Linked DNA regions of Homo sapiens: regions 1, 3 and 4 are each linked to region 2. The links are contacts of gene promoters, found by promoter capture Hi-C in blood cells and fetal thymus (Javierre and others, 2016). All regions are on one chromosome and are shown on one strand. Each heading gives the region's core, a stretch centred on a gene start or on the middle of the fragment in contact. The rest is flanking DNA. Distances are from core to core; before and after follow the strand shown.

What was found. The method cuts DNA at HindIII sites, captures the fragments that hold promoters and counts their contacts. A CHiCAGO score of 5 or more calls a contact.
Region 1: a contact is called between a fragment that was not itself captured here and the fragment with the promoter of TMEM165 in region 2, in 1 of 17 cell types (M1 macrophages). The highest score is 6.0, in M1 macrophages.
Region 3: a contact is called between a fragment that was not itself captured here and the fragment with the promoter of TMEM165 in region 2, in 1 of 17 cell types (endothelial precursors). The highest score is 5.2, in endothelial precursors.
Region 4: a fragment that was not itself captured here is called in contact with the fragment with the promoter of TMEM165 in region 2 in 6 of 17 cell types (total B cells, erythroblasts, naive B cells and 3 more); the score reaches 12.9 in total B cells.

Annotation. Positions count from the first base shown.
Region 1 is chr4:54,967,976-54,971,495 of GRCh38, reverse strand. No RefSeq gene overlaps it. Among named protein-coding and RNA genes, the nearest start is that of LINC02358, 120 kb to the right of the region's middle. The HindIII fragment of the contact is 3,052 bases long and covers 700-3,520 here.
Region 2 is chr4:55,394,558-55,398,057 of GRCh38, reverse strand. TMEM165 (transmembrane protein 165) reads right to left here and starts at 2,101. Exons shown (of 6, transcript NM_018475.5): 1 at 1,662-2,101. The coding sequence starts at 1,868. RefSeq lists silencers at 1,426-1,895, 2,096-2,295. The HindIII fragment of the contact is 4,477 bases long and covers 1-3,500 here.
Region 3 is chr4:55,003,081-55,006,255 of GRCh38, reverse strand. No RefSeq gene overlaps it. Among named protein-coding and RNA genes, the nearest start is that of KDR, 120 kb to the left of the region's middle. The HindIII fragment of the contact is 3,743 bases long and covers 1-3,128 here.
Region 4 is chr4:55,865,004-55,868,404 of GRCh38, reverse strand. It overlaps EXOC1 (exocyst complex component 1), which reads right to left. Exons shown (of 19, transcript NM_001024924.2): 5 at 1-69. Among named protein-coding and RNA genes, the nearest start is that of EXOC1, 13 kb to the right of the region's middle. The HindIII fragment of the contact is 1,036 bases long and covers 880-1,915 here.

The DNA.
Region 1 (3,520 bases), core at 976-3,475, 430 kb after region 2:
CATCTGCTAATAAGAGGAAATGGTCCACTGTGTTGATTGTTCATTTTGATTTTTGCTTTGAAATTGAATTTACCTGTGATCTTAGCTTTTGAGTACTAATATTACGTATGTTTTTATTTTCCAGATAAGCGCATGAGCACATGATTTGGTTTTGTTAGTTTAAAAGAGGATTGACTTTGAAGTTCAGGCTCGATGCTCCTGAAAATTGATGAATTAGGTCTCGGATTTCACCATGTCCAACAAGCCTTCCCTGACCTTTCTTCCAAACTGATTTTCTGCTGTATGGCAGTAGCCCCATCTTTCCGTTTTTTAAGACTATGCATAGACATCATCGCCCTTGCTACTCTGAACTATAATTGGCTCCTCACTGTTTCTCATGCAATTGGGAACACATTCCTCGTGGGTATGTACCAGGTTTCAAGACCTGTGGTGTATCCTGAACCTAGCACATGGAGCTGCTTGATCAATACAGTTGAATGAAATGAAGGAATGAATATAAGAAAAAGTTTTTCTAAATAAGATGATAGGGCAGGATTCATTTTTGTCTTTGTAGTTCTCAGCTTTCTCCTATGTTCAGTCAAGTATTCCATCTTGAAATAGCTGAATTTAATTAAACTAACAACTCCATGTAAGATCTTAGCAGGATAACAAAAATCATGGTTTGAGGGCAAAACCTTAAATTCAAAGGTGAATGAAGCTTTGATGATGGTTAGGATACATCTGCCTTTAAAAATTGGGTTACCTGCTCTGTCTGGTAAATTTGAGGCAGACATAACTGTTCTTCTTCTGTACCAACATCCCCAAACACCCTGACCTGTTAAAAAAAAAAAAAAAGTGAAGTTTCTCATTTGCAGCAGGGACTAGAGCACAGGAATGCAAGAGGAATAGAAATGGGAAGTCTGGAAAAGGCAAAATCTCCTTTGAAGAATGTCCAGATCTCCTTCCCAGACCCACTGCTGACCTGGGATAAGTTCCCAATCATTCCCTGAAATTAAAAAATGTAGTCTTCTTGTTCCTTAAAGAGAGATGCTCCTTCTCCAACCCTGAAGATGTGACACAGGACCAAAGTTATTTTCCTACCTGACGTAGAAGCCTGAGGCCTGGCAGAGCCTGCTTCTGTGCCTCTGAGAGTCCAGTTCCTCTGAATCTGACTCAGAAAGCAGCCTTATTTTAACTAGCCAGGCCAGCCTATCCTCTCACTTTCTCCCTACCTAATAGAACCCTGTCTGGGGAAGGAGTAGCCATATATCTATCTGATGTGTGAAAATAATGAAACAAAGAAAAATCCTCTAAATTTCCCAAACTCCTTTGCAGATAGAAGTAGCCAAGTTTTGGCTGGTGAAATAGAAGTGGAAGTTGTTGAGAGGAACTTCCTAGAGAAGCTCCTTAAAAAGGGGTTGACTCCCATGGCATACTGTTTTGTCCACTGCTCTTCTCATTCTTCTTGTCTGGAGCTTGAACAGGATGGCTAGAACTCTGGCAGCCATCTTGAGGCCACTAGACAACCTTTAAAGATGACTGAACAGAAATGTAAAAGGAGTCTAAGTCCCTGGTGAATTGTGAGCTACCATTCCCACCCTGGACCTCCCATGTCCACATTCTTCATTACCTGAGAAAAATAAGTTTCCTAATTTGTTTAAACCTATGTTTTGGGGGACCTCTTTTACTTGGAGCTTAACACAATTCTTAACTGATACAAAGGGCTTTAGTAAAAAACATACTTATATTTAAAATCTGCTTAGCTCTCATATTCAATCTGTTCCTATAGTCATTAGAAAAAAAGTGTTGTGCAAAAGCCAAAATTGACAAATGGATCTAATTAAACTAAAGAGCTTCTGCACAGCAAAAGAAACTACCACCAGAGTGAACAGGCAGCCTACAGAATGGGAGAAAATTTTTGCAATCTACTCATCTGACAAAGGGCTAATATCCAGAATCTACAATGAACTCAAACAAATTTACAAGAAAAAACAAACAACCCCATCAAAAAGTGGGCGAAGGATATGAACAGACACTTCTCAAAAGAAGACATTTATGCAGCCAAAAGACACATGAAAAAATGCTCATCATCACTGGCCATCAGAGAAATGCAAATCAAAACCACAATGAGATACCATCTCACACCAGTTAGAATGGCGATCATTAAGAAGTCAGGAAACAACAGGTGCTGGAGAGGATGTGGAGAAATAGGAACACTTTTACACTGTTGGTGGGACTGTAAACTAGTTCAACCATTGTGGAAGTCAGTGTGGCGATTCCTCAGGGATCTAGAACTAGAAATACCATTTGACCCAGCCATCCCATTACTGGGTATATACCCAAAGGACTATAAAACATGCTGCTATAAAGACACATGCACACGTATGTTTATTGCGGCCCTATTCACAATAGGAAAGACTTGGAACCAACCCAAATGTCCAACAACGATAGACTGGATTAAGAAAATGTGGCACATATACACCATGGAATACTATGCAGCCATAAAAAATGGTGAGTTCATATCCTTTGTAGGGACATGGATGAAATTGGAAATCATCATTCTCAGTAAACTATCGCAAGGACAAAAAACCAAACACTGCATGTTCTCACTCATAGGTGGGAACTGAACAATGAGAACACATGGACACAGGAAGGGGAACATCACACTCTGGGGACTGTTGTGGGGTGGGGGGAGGGGAGAGGGATAGCATTTGGAGATATACCTAATGTTAACTGAGGAGTTACTGTGTGCAGCACACCAACATGGCACATGTATACATATGTAACAAACCTGCACATTGTGCACATGTACCCTAAAAGTTAAAGTGTATATAAAAAAAGAAAACAGACAATAAAGAAAATTAATAAAAAAAAAAAAAGAGAAAAAGTGTTGTGGAGTTTGGAATAATTTTCCAGAGAACCGATGGGCCCATGATTTGGGGAAGATGAAGGGCTGATCTTTTTGAAAAAGGAGCCAACCACATGTAATGCCTATGCTGAGGAATGAATAATTCTTAGAGGGGCTAGTAGAGCAAATGGTTTAGCTGGGATTGGGTCAACCATTTGGAACAGTATTGAATCAGTTGTGGAGGGTGGAAGTTCTTTTCATCTCAGGATAATTAATCCCATGTGTAATGTTGGACAAAATTACCTGATCCTAATTAGCAAGAGTCATGTGGCCTTCAAAATATGATTTATGCTATAAAATTGAAAGAAATTACATACACAGTCCTCAATGGAAGATCATGTCTCACAATTTCTCTTGCAGGGAAAAGGTGGTTAGGAATATGAGATTTGGAAGAATATGAGATTAGGGTCATATTCACCTCGGTTCGAACCTGGCTCAGTTCATTATTTTGACACAATTATTTACATTGCTAAACCTGTATTCTCATCTACAGATTGGGGTATATATATACTCATAGTCCCAACTTAAAGGGTACTTGTAAGGATTAAGTGAGGTTTACTCATACTTACTGAACTTCCTGGTATACGAGCAGGTGCTTAATACAAATATGAACACCAATAAAAGTTCAATGTG
Region 2 (3,500 bases), core at 852-3,351:
AACGAAAACATGAAACACGAAAACAATGCACCGGTGTGAGAGCTCACCAGCACTTGGGAGGCCAAGGCCGGAGAAGCGCTTGAGCCCAGGAGTTTGAGACTAGACTCGGCAACATAGTGAGACCTCCTCTCTCAAAAAAAAAAAAAATAAACAAAAATTAGCCGGGCGTGTCAGCACACGCATGCAGTCCCAGCCACTCAGGAGGCTGAGGTGGGAGGATCAATTAGAGGTTGCAGTGAGCCAAGACGGGGCCACTGCACTCCAGCCTGGGCGACAGAGCGAGACCCTGTCTCAACAAAGAAAAAGGAAAAAGGAAAGGAAGGGAGAAAGGAAAGGAAAAAGGAAAGGAAAGGAGAAATGAAAGGAATGGAAAGGAAAAAGGAGAAAGGAGAGGAAAGGAAAAAGGAGAAAGGAGAGGAAAGGAAAGGAAAGGAAAGGGTCAGATAAATCACCCTTAACCAAGAAATTTTAGGGAAGTCTTCACAGAGAGTAGGTATCTGCTGGTTCTCCAAGGTGGGAAGAGTTGATCCGTGGCTTCAAACTCCAGGTCTTTTTTTTTTTTTCTTTGAAAAGGTCTTGTGTTAGGGAGGAACTGGCAAGAGAGCACAAAGCCTGTCCCAAAGGGCTCTTGAAGCACATTCTTTTTTGCAGATGAGCATATCCCTTTAGCATATGAGCAAGAAAGCGGTGGCTAAAAAGCCTGGAGGTGAGCTGGAGCCAGATCAGAAGAAACCTGAACATCACTCTCCTAAAAAGGCTGGACTGAAATTAGTGGAGGCAACTCACCGACGACTTCTGACAAGATGGCAGAATTCAATGTTCGGGAAGATTAGTTACGTGGAGATGGGCTGGATGTGGCCTGGGTGGGAGTGGGGGTTTGAGTGCCACACTGGCCGGGATTCAGGGAGCAGATACTGGAAATGACGACAAAGCCCACGACTGGGAGAAGGGAGAAATGTTAAAACGCTGCCAAGTGACTAAGGACTAATTCTATTAACAGATTAAAAAGTTGATTTCTAGTATCTATTCAGGGAAGGACAAAATACAGGATTCTGTTTTACTTATAAATGTAGTTTTGGCATCCCACATCGCTGCAGCACGCTGTACTGCCGGAGACTAATTCCTCTGCGTTCCTAAAGGCTACTTCCTGCTAGCCAAAGCACATTTTTAAAAAGTGAGAGTCATGGTTCATAATCCATATTTGGCAAAAAGCACAGGCAGTGCCAAGTTGAATTTGGGTAAGCAGTTTGGCATAAGCTATTTCAACAATGAAATGGCCGATGTGATGATCCTCAGGGAATACAAAAAGCCTCCTAGCAGCCTTCTGTTAAAAACTTTTTGGTAGGGATGAGTCTTTCTAGCTACTCTAAGACACATCTGATCAATAAAACGCCCATCCCGGAGCAGCATCTTGGCCCTCCGGAGATCAACGTTTATAGCGGGCTCCTCTTGGACTCTCCCTCTCCCTTTCCCTAAAGGAGCGGGCAAGACCAGGCCTCACCGGAAAACAGCGCAGCCGACCGCCCTCCACCCCGGGAGCAGGGGCCGGGCTCCCCTCCCCCAGCCGAGGCCGGCGGAGTGCGGCGCTTTCAAAGGCCTGGAGCCTGGTACTCGGCGCAGCCGGCCCTGCAGCCTCGCTCGCCCCATCCCGGCCCGCTCACCTCGACCCGGGCCGGCTCGGGGCCCTGCACAGCCACAGGCTGCGGCTGCAGCTGCTGGGCCGGCGCCGGCGGTTCTTTGTTCCGGTGGCTAAGGTCTTCATCTGGGCCGGCCCGGACCGCAGCCGGGGCCCACAGCAGCGGAACCAGAAAGAGCAGAAGCAGCCGGGGCGCCGATGCGCGGCCGTTCCCTGGAGCCGCGGCCGCCATCCCGCCTGCCGGGCCGGCCGCGCACGGGCGCCGCAAGAGGAAGTGCCGGCGACGGGAAGCCTCGACCCCGAACAGCCTCCGCGGCGCGTCCTCACGACTCGCCGCCGCCGCCGCTTAGGGAGCAGTCAGCACCATCCGGGAGGTGCAAGCAGCGGGAGTGAGGTGAGGGGCAGGCCGAAGTCCGCAGCCCCGGCTCGGCGCCCGTCCTCTCCGGCGGCGGCTAAACTGGAGTCAGCCAGCTGCCTCGGCGCGGCCCAGCCCCGACTCCTCCCGGCCCCGTCCCTGCCCGCGACGGCCTCCCATTGGCCCGGCGACCGCCTTGGCGTCGTGACGTCCTCTGCCAGGTTGAGGTGCGGCGCGGGCCCTCCTCCCATTGGATCCGGCGCTCCCGGCAGGTACCCGGCGCCGCGTGTCCTTCCTCTGCTCGCATCCTCACCGCGCCGCGCCCGGGGCTCCCTTTCTCTCTCTGTGCCCCACCGTCCCAGGACTGCGAGGTCCTTCACTTCTGCTTCCTCCAGAGCCTTCCGCCGTAATGTCCGCACCCGCTGTTCCCTGCGCTTAGTCTCTCTTAGAGGTCAAATTAGTGCGAGCGCCTCTGGTTACGTGGCGCTGACTCGCAGGCACTGCCACGCCCAGCTCTGTTCCGCTCTCCCCCGCCGAGCCTCTGTGCCACCCTCCATGTGGCCACCTACCGCCAAAAACGTTCTTAGGAGCTCAAAATGCTATTTTTTTTTTAAAGTTCTGAAATGGGATTTGGAAATAACATGACATTTTTCAAGCCTTGTTTTAAGATACTGCCTATAATTACCCCAGACCAAAAATGGCTAACGTTGCCCTTGTCCAGTATGGCCTTGACGTTTTGGGTGCATCTTGTTTTGTGCTATTCCTTAGACCCTTTAAAAATGCTGGGCTTTTGAAATGGACTGTTTAAGACTTTTGCAGGATGGAGCTTTGAGTGGGCAAGACTAGAAGACAGGAAAGGATGGTCTTGAGTTAGGCTTGAGAATATTTTTACGTCTTCCCAAAAGAAAAAGTGAGCTACTTAATTACCATAAGTTTGAGACCTAGTCCCTAATAAAAATCGATAGTGCTAACCATGTGCCAGGCACTAATCTAATATTATACATATTTACATACAGTAAACCTGTACTCAGTAAAGAGCTAAGGAAGTTTATCACTAACTGAAACAAAAAATTAATCCACCAAAACAATCTGTGGGAAAGTGGGCAAACCTACTTTGAGTTCACCAAAGATACAGTGTTTGTCACAGGATAATAAAATTTCCGTCTGTTTTTTTGTTTTGTTGTTTTCTTTGTTTTTGTTTTTGAGACGGAGTTTCGCGCTTGTTGCTCAGGATGGAGTGCAATGGTGAGATCTCGGCCCACTGCAACCTCCTCCTCCCGGGTACAAGAGATTCTCCTGCCTCAGCTTCCCGAGTAGCTGGGATTACAGGCATGCTCCACCATACGCGGCTAACTTTGTAATTTTAGTAGAGATGGGGTTTCTCCATGTTGGTCAGGCTGGTCTCGAACTCCAGACCTCAGGTGATCTGCCGGCCTCGTCCTCTCAAAGTGCTGGGATTACAGGTGTGAGCCACCGCGGCCGGCCTCCGTCCATGTTATTCTGTCCGTA
Region 3 (3,175 bases), core at 8-2,507, 390 kb after region 2:
GCCCATTTTTTCATCAACGAAACCATTTCATCATTGCTCCTTCTGCTTCAAAGCCACTCTCTCTGCTACCCACAGAGAATAACTAACTGCTGCCTTGTCTCAGACCTCCCTGACAGTGAAAGAGAGAGACACCAGATCTTGCTGTCAACTAATTATCATGGTCCTGCCTCAGGGCCTTTGCTCAGGCTGCTGTGCCAGGCTGGAAACTTTATCAACATATCTGCCTAGCTACTCCCTTCACAGTAAACCTGTGCTCAAATTTTACCTTTTTCCTAAGGCCTTCTCTATTGTATTTAATACCTTACTTGCCCAATCCCCCTACTCCACTTTACTTTTTCTTTTTTTATATACCTATCTTATAGCATATTATCTAACTTATTTACTATGTTTATTGTTTATTTCACCCAACTAGCATATAAAGTTGCTGAGGGCATGGGTGTGACCCCAGAGCATAGAGTAGTGCCTGGCTGCTGATTAAGTATCCATTGAGGGATGAATGCTCTTTCAGCCAGATAATGCATTACCTTTCCCATGATTACTTTTATGCTTATTGGCAGTGGATGCTAATATCATCAAGGTGCACTGTGTTATGTGGAGGTACCATGTCTGCTCCAGGATCCTCTGAAGTATTCTTGATATTCAGTACGTTCCTCCTGGACACATAGGAATAAAACAAAGGATAAATAATTAATCTCCGATAAGCATCAAGGATTAAAGAGAAAAGGGTTGATGCCAATAGGCAGATTTGTAAACAAATGCTTTTTAACTAGGGGTTGAATTCTGAGCCCTGAGAACTGTCCCTTGGTATGAACTCTCATGAAGTCAGAAGGTGGCAAGCCAGCAAACATGGACCATGCTGCAATCAACAAGGTCAGCAAAGAATTTACATGCAGGAAATCATCTATTTTTAATATTGCAATTGCTTTCCTGTTTTCCTTTATTCCAAATGTTACCACAGGAGCCCAATTCCAAGAGTTTTGTTTGAATGCTTTCCTCTCCTATTTTTCTTCTTTAAATTTGGATGCGACCTTGTATTTCCAGAGAGCAAATGTTCTCTTGTTATTTTAAGAAAACCAGGAGGCTGGGTCATCTGTCAGGCTGAACAATGCTGGACGGATCTAAAGTGTTGGGGTCCCAAGGGTGGTGATTCTAAGTGGGAAGGCTGAGAGTGAGCTCCCTCTGGGGAAATGTAAAAGGATATGCAACAAGCAAAGGGTTGAATTTGTGCTGGGTGAGCCAGCCCAGAGAAGCAGGAGATGTGTTGCCAAGCTGGCAGAACTTGCAGTGAGTATCCAATAGTCCAGCCCCCACCCCACTCCTACCTCACCACATCCCTGTGGAGTTGAAGAAAGACATTCCTTTCATGCCCAAAGCAGTCCAAGCCCCTCCTAGATTTTTCTGGCTAATTATCTGTTCTTCAGCTGAGGTTTTGTAGACCTTGTATTTTCCAAGCACTAAGATTGCAAAGTTTTGGCAACTGTTTGATTATCACTCAGCAATGAAACCTATTTGCTTTATCTTTTGATGATTAGCTCTTTGTAGTGCCATGGTTGGCAAAGGCTGGGAGGGAACAGAAGCAAATGTGGTCAAGAGATTTGCTGAACATAAATTCTTTCTTGTAATGCAGTTAACATGGAGCCACTTCTTGGCCTGGTTAATGCAGAGTTCACTGTGTCCCAAAGCCCAAGGCTTGTCCTCACCTCGGTGTGGCTGAAGGAGTGGAGTTGAGTTGATGGATTCTTGATCCTTCTTGGAGTCTAATCCCTCATCTTCAATCAGCCTCCTTGGCCCCAGGTTATGCACCGTTTCAGCTCTGTAGCAGCAGTCCCAAGAAAGGCACTTCCCTCTCTGGGAAGTAGCCCCTGGACTTCCTGACTTAACCTTGCAGATGTTTCCGTAATTTCTCCTGGAAGTCTTGATGGTCTGGTGCCCCTGCAAGCCCTAGATTCTTGCCTGCAACCTCTTTCTATGTCTCGTGTTTGGTTTCTCTGAGTCATATTCAGATGCCCAGGTTGGGTCCCTCTTTGCCAATGGCTGGATCTACCTATTTTTCTGGTGACTTTGACAGACTCCTGAGAGGAATGGTTTCATAGAAGGACTTTAAGCACACTCCTCTCTCACAAAGGCAAGGATTAGCATAGTAACTCAGACAGCAATGACTGCTGCGTACCTGACCCAGAACTTTTCATATTCAAAATGATTTCACACATTAACTGATTAATCCAAGTGGAGTTGAACAGTAAGCAACACTACCCTATACTAGAAGAGAGAACCTGCTGAGGGTAAATATTTCATCACTGGTCAGGGCAGAAGCCCAGGGAAGTGCTCTCACCACCAGTAGCATCTCCAGAGCAGGAGTTACATTTTAGAAAAACAAAGCCTCCTACCTTATAAGAACCAAGCATGTAACCCCTTGTTCTAGTCACTCAGCACTGTTATCTCAGGTATCCATGTACTTTCAAACTGTTATTAGTTGAGCCATAACTGGCCTATTAATATCACATATCTTGTTCTACAAAGAATATATAGAAAATACATATAATAAAATACAAATTTAAAATTAAGTAGCAGCACCAGATAAATGAAATTAGAACAAGTGCGGAAGGGAGATGAGCAAACCCAAAAGATCTTACACACTTGCAATGACTGAGCAGTAAATTTGCCTCAGAGCTTCCTCGTGGTCAAAGCAGAGAAGGAAACATGGTCATTTATTATGCACAAATGGAAAAATACCTTTTCCTCAGCAAGTGAAGTATTTTGCTTTTAGTTCTGAAGGAGTTGTCTCATGAAGGGCTTTAGCAAATGAAGTAATGGTTTTTATAAAGTTATCTCCTTCATAATATATCTATTAAGTGAAACCTTGGATAGGTCAGGGAACCTCTCTGAACAGTGTTTTGCCATTGTGTCCATCCGCTTTAGGGAATCCATCACCTATGCCTCGGCAGACCTGAAGCTGATTCAGTTTGATGTATGTATCCAATGACTTCATGTGTGAAGCACATGTGTGCTAGGTCTTCTGGGAATATGAGATTAAAATATATATATATGGCTTTTGTTCCCTGGGTCCATAGCTCAGTGATGGGGAAAGAAATACACAAATAATTGTGTATACATTATACAAAGAAGCTTATTGTCTTAGTTGGTAAAGTTTGCTATAATAGAATACCATAGATTG
Region 4 (3,401 bases), core at 148-2,647, 470 kb before region 2:
CTTGGTATTCATCTACTACTTCTTCATCACCTCCTGTCACACTCTGATTTTCTCCACTTGGAACAGATTCTTAAAGAGGTAAAAATTCAAAGTAAAATAGTCAAAAAAGTAGAAAAGACTATAACATAATACATATAGGTAGGTATAGTTATAAGCACAGGTCACATTTAGCAGCTGAAAAAGAGGATAGAATGATTCAAATGATATGAAAAAATCAAACTTTATTTTTATAAATAATTTAATATGTTAATGAAATAAAGTTCTAAAAAATAAATAAAAAGCATGCAGTCTAATGCACTAACTTACAAATGTTAAAACAGGCTTTCACCACAGTTTCCCAAAATACAATTAAGCTAAAATGTAAAAACAAAATACAAAAACAGGTGGGAACAAACCTAAACATTTTTTCGTACCTGATGTGGCTGTTGCTCTAACAAAACAATGACTATGAATTCAGTACACACAAAAACAATTTGCTTTCCTTTTTTTCCCAGGTGAAATTTTTCTTTTGTTACTTTTGTTACTTTCATCTTCAGTATGTATATTTTTGCCAAATACTTTTTAATTAAAATGAAAAATGCATCTATAATCCATAATTTATTTTGGTCACTAGAATATTAACTGAATTATCCATTTCTTTGCTTAAAAAAATTTCACATGCATTGATAACATTTCTAAAGATAAGTTACAGCTTTCTCAATAACTCTAAGTAAGAGCAACAACAACATGGCTGTTTGAAATTATAAAAAGTTAAACAGGCTTCATGCTTTATAACAAAAGACCAAGAGGTCAAACCTGAAATGCTTTCTAGATGTTTCAGTTCATTTTTTTTTTTTTTTTGAGGAAATACACTAGCATGTGAGCACTGTATATAAAGCTTGAGGTTAGGAGGTAAAATGAAAGAAATCATTTTTAACTCCTAAGATGTTGTTTTATCACTCTAAATAAAGTTAGCAATTTCACAGACTTAATGGGGCATGATTTAAACCACAAACTCTGGATGCTTTTAGTATTCATTATTTTATAGGAAAATGAATATTTACATTCAGCATGACCTGAAATACGTTCATTTGTCCCAGAACAAAAAGAAGACTAAAACTTTTGGTACAGGCAATTACAGATTTTAGTATATAAGTTCTTTAGAGAGATATTACCGATCTCCTTGTCCTTTCAACGAGTCCATTTAATTCACTGCGAAAAAGTTCAACTGTCATGTGTGACAGCTTATTAGCCACTAGGGGGCAGGGACTGCCCAAATCATTCTGTACAGGTCCTTACACAAGTAGACTTAAACAAATATTTTACATGATTATAATTAACTGCTTCAGAAGTATTTTCTAATGATATGTCCTTGAAAGCCAATAATAAATACTATCATTAATTTTATTACTATGTAGATTTTTAAAATAAATTTGTCCCAGTACATCATTTCATAAAACATACAACCAACGGTATATAACAAAGGCAACTAATAAAAACATATGGAATAGAAGAAGAAAAGGTGTTACGCACCTTCTGTAACTTTAGGCAGTTCTGGAGAGTAAAAAGTATGAAAAAAGCAGAGGAAAGTAAGCAAAGAATATTAGCTGGGTAGAAAAGTAAACAGGCTTAAATTTTTAAAATACTACCCATATCTCATTTGAACTTCATGTTAAAGTTCAAAAGACAGCCAAATCAACTACCAAGTGGAAAGATCCATAAGAAGCTAAATTTGCCGTGTTCATTTTTCTTATTCACTTTCTGATAGTGACTACAAATATATTTATCTTTCTAATTTCTCTTAGTCTTTTAAGAAACAGCACTAACTAACCCTTAGAGGAGAAACCTGGCAAACTAATCATTTCCTGGGGATTATATTTAGGTCAGTTGTGACTCATGCATGTAGCCTAGTTATGTTACTTAAGGCCCAAAAGCTTTACCCAGACACTCCCTCACAGAGGATTAGTCACAAAACATGGTTAGAAAGGACAAGATTGAGGCAAGTAAAAAATTACACAAAATAACAGTTCAAGCCAGCATTTAAGGATTCAAGTCAAAGATTCTTTTTTAAAAAGCTGGTTGCAAGTAAAAGAATGAAAAAAAAGGCCAAATAAAAACTTCAATCTACTTCAACTGCTGAAAAGTCCTCTTTTACAAACCTTATTCTGCTGAGGAGCCCCATTATTTAACTTACGTATTCAATTGTCAACAATAAAAACTACCAAGTTGCCACTGCTACCATTTATAATCAAAATAGTCTTACTTAATTATTGAGCTCTTAAACTGGGGTGGTAATAATTTTTTATTTGTTTTCTAACATCACTCAAAACTTAGAGACATTTTTTTTTAATGGGAATTAAAGGCTGTAATTTCAAGGTCCATAAAACAAGTTTGTAGACATTAATGAAGCTATTCCCTGAACTCCACTAAACCAAAGCAAGAGTTACTGACGTATATAGCAAGTGATTTTCAAAATGAGATCCTTAAGGATCTTCTCAGTATTCTTAAAATCGATCTCAGTTAGGGTTAATGTTTATACACATGAACGTGTCTATACTCTTGTTTTATGGCCTGAAAAATTGAATGCCTTTTTTTTTTTAAGTTAGACACTTCATTTTCAAAAACAGTAATACTCTTCTCACTGATTTTGGTAGTATTTCTTAATGAGGCAGATCCAGGTAGGGTATGTATTTTTCTATATGACTGTCCTGAAATATACTGGTTTAAAATCACCTTACACAATAAATAACATCTGGAAATGCATAATATTTGAAGACAGAACAGCAAGCTTGTGAATCACTGAATCACTGACTCATCAGAATGTTCAACCCTGAAATGTTAAAAAAAATAAAAGCCATTCGAAGCAAATTAAACCACGATTCAAGGCATGAAAAGTTACCATAAATTTCTTGAAGGTCATTCCCTCTACACACTCAATTACCAAGATGTTGGGGACTAGTGTTGGTGAGATGGCAACCCTGGGGATTCCTACATAAGACCAGCACTACTGGTGGCTGACATATGTGACTTGTTTCTGCCAGTGCCAAGCATCAAGCCTAAAATCAGCAGCAGGCTCACTGATTACTAAGTGCTATCTTACAATGTTTGTATCTTTAGGAAAGAAATTTTAAAAGTAGAGAAAATCTCATATTTTCACTAATTAATGGTAGAGTTTTTGTCTTGTAACACAAAATGATGCATAGTAACATTCCTGAAGATATACTGATCAAAAATATTCTAATAATCTTCATGTCTAAGGATTTTATACTGGTAACATAATAATAGCTAATATTTACTGAGCACTTACTATGTACCTGGCACTGTTCTTACTATGTTCATATATTAAGTAATTTAATCCTCATAACAACCCTATGAGGTAGATACTATTATTATCTCTAGTTCTGAGATAAGGGAAACTGAAA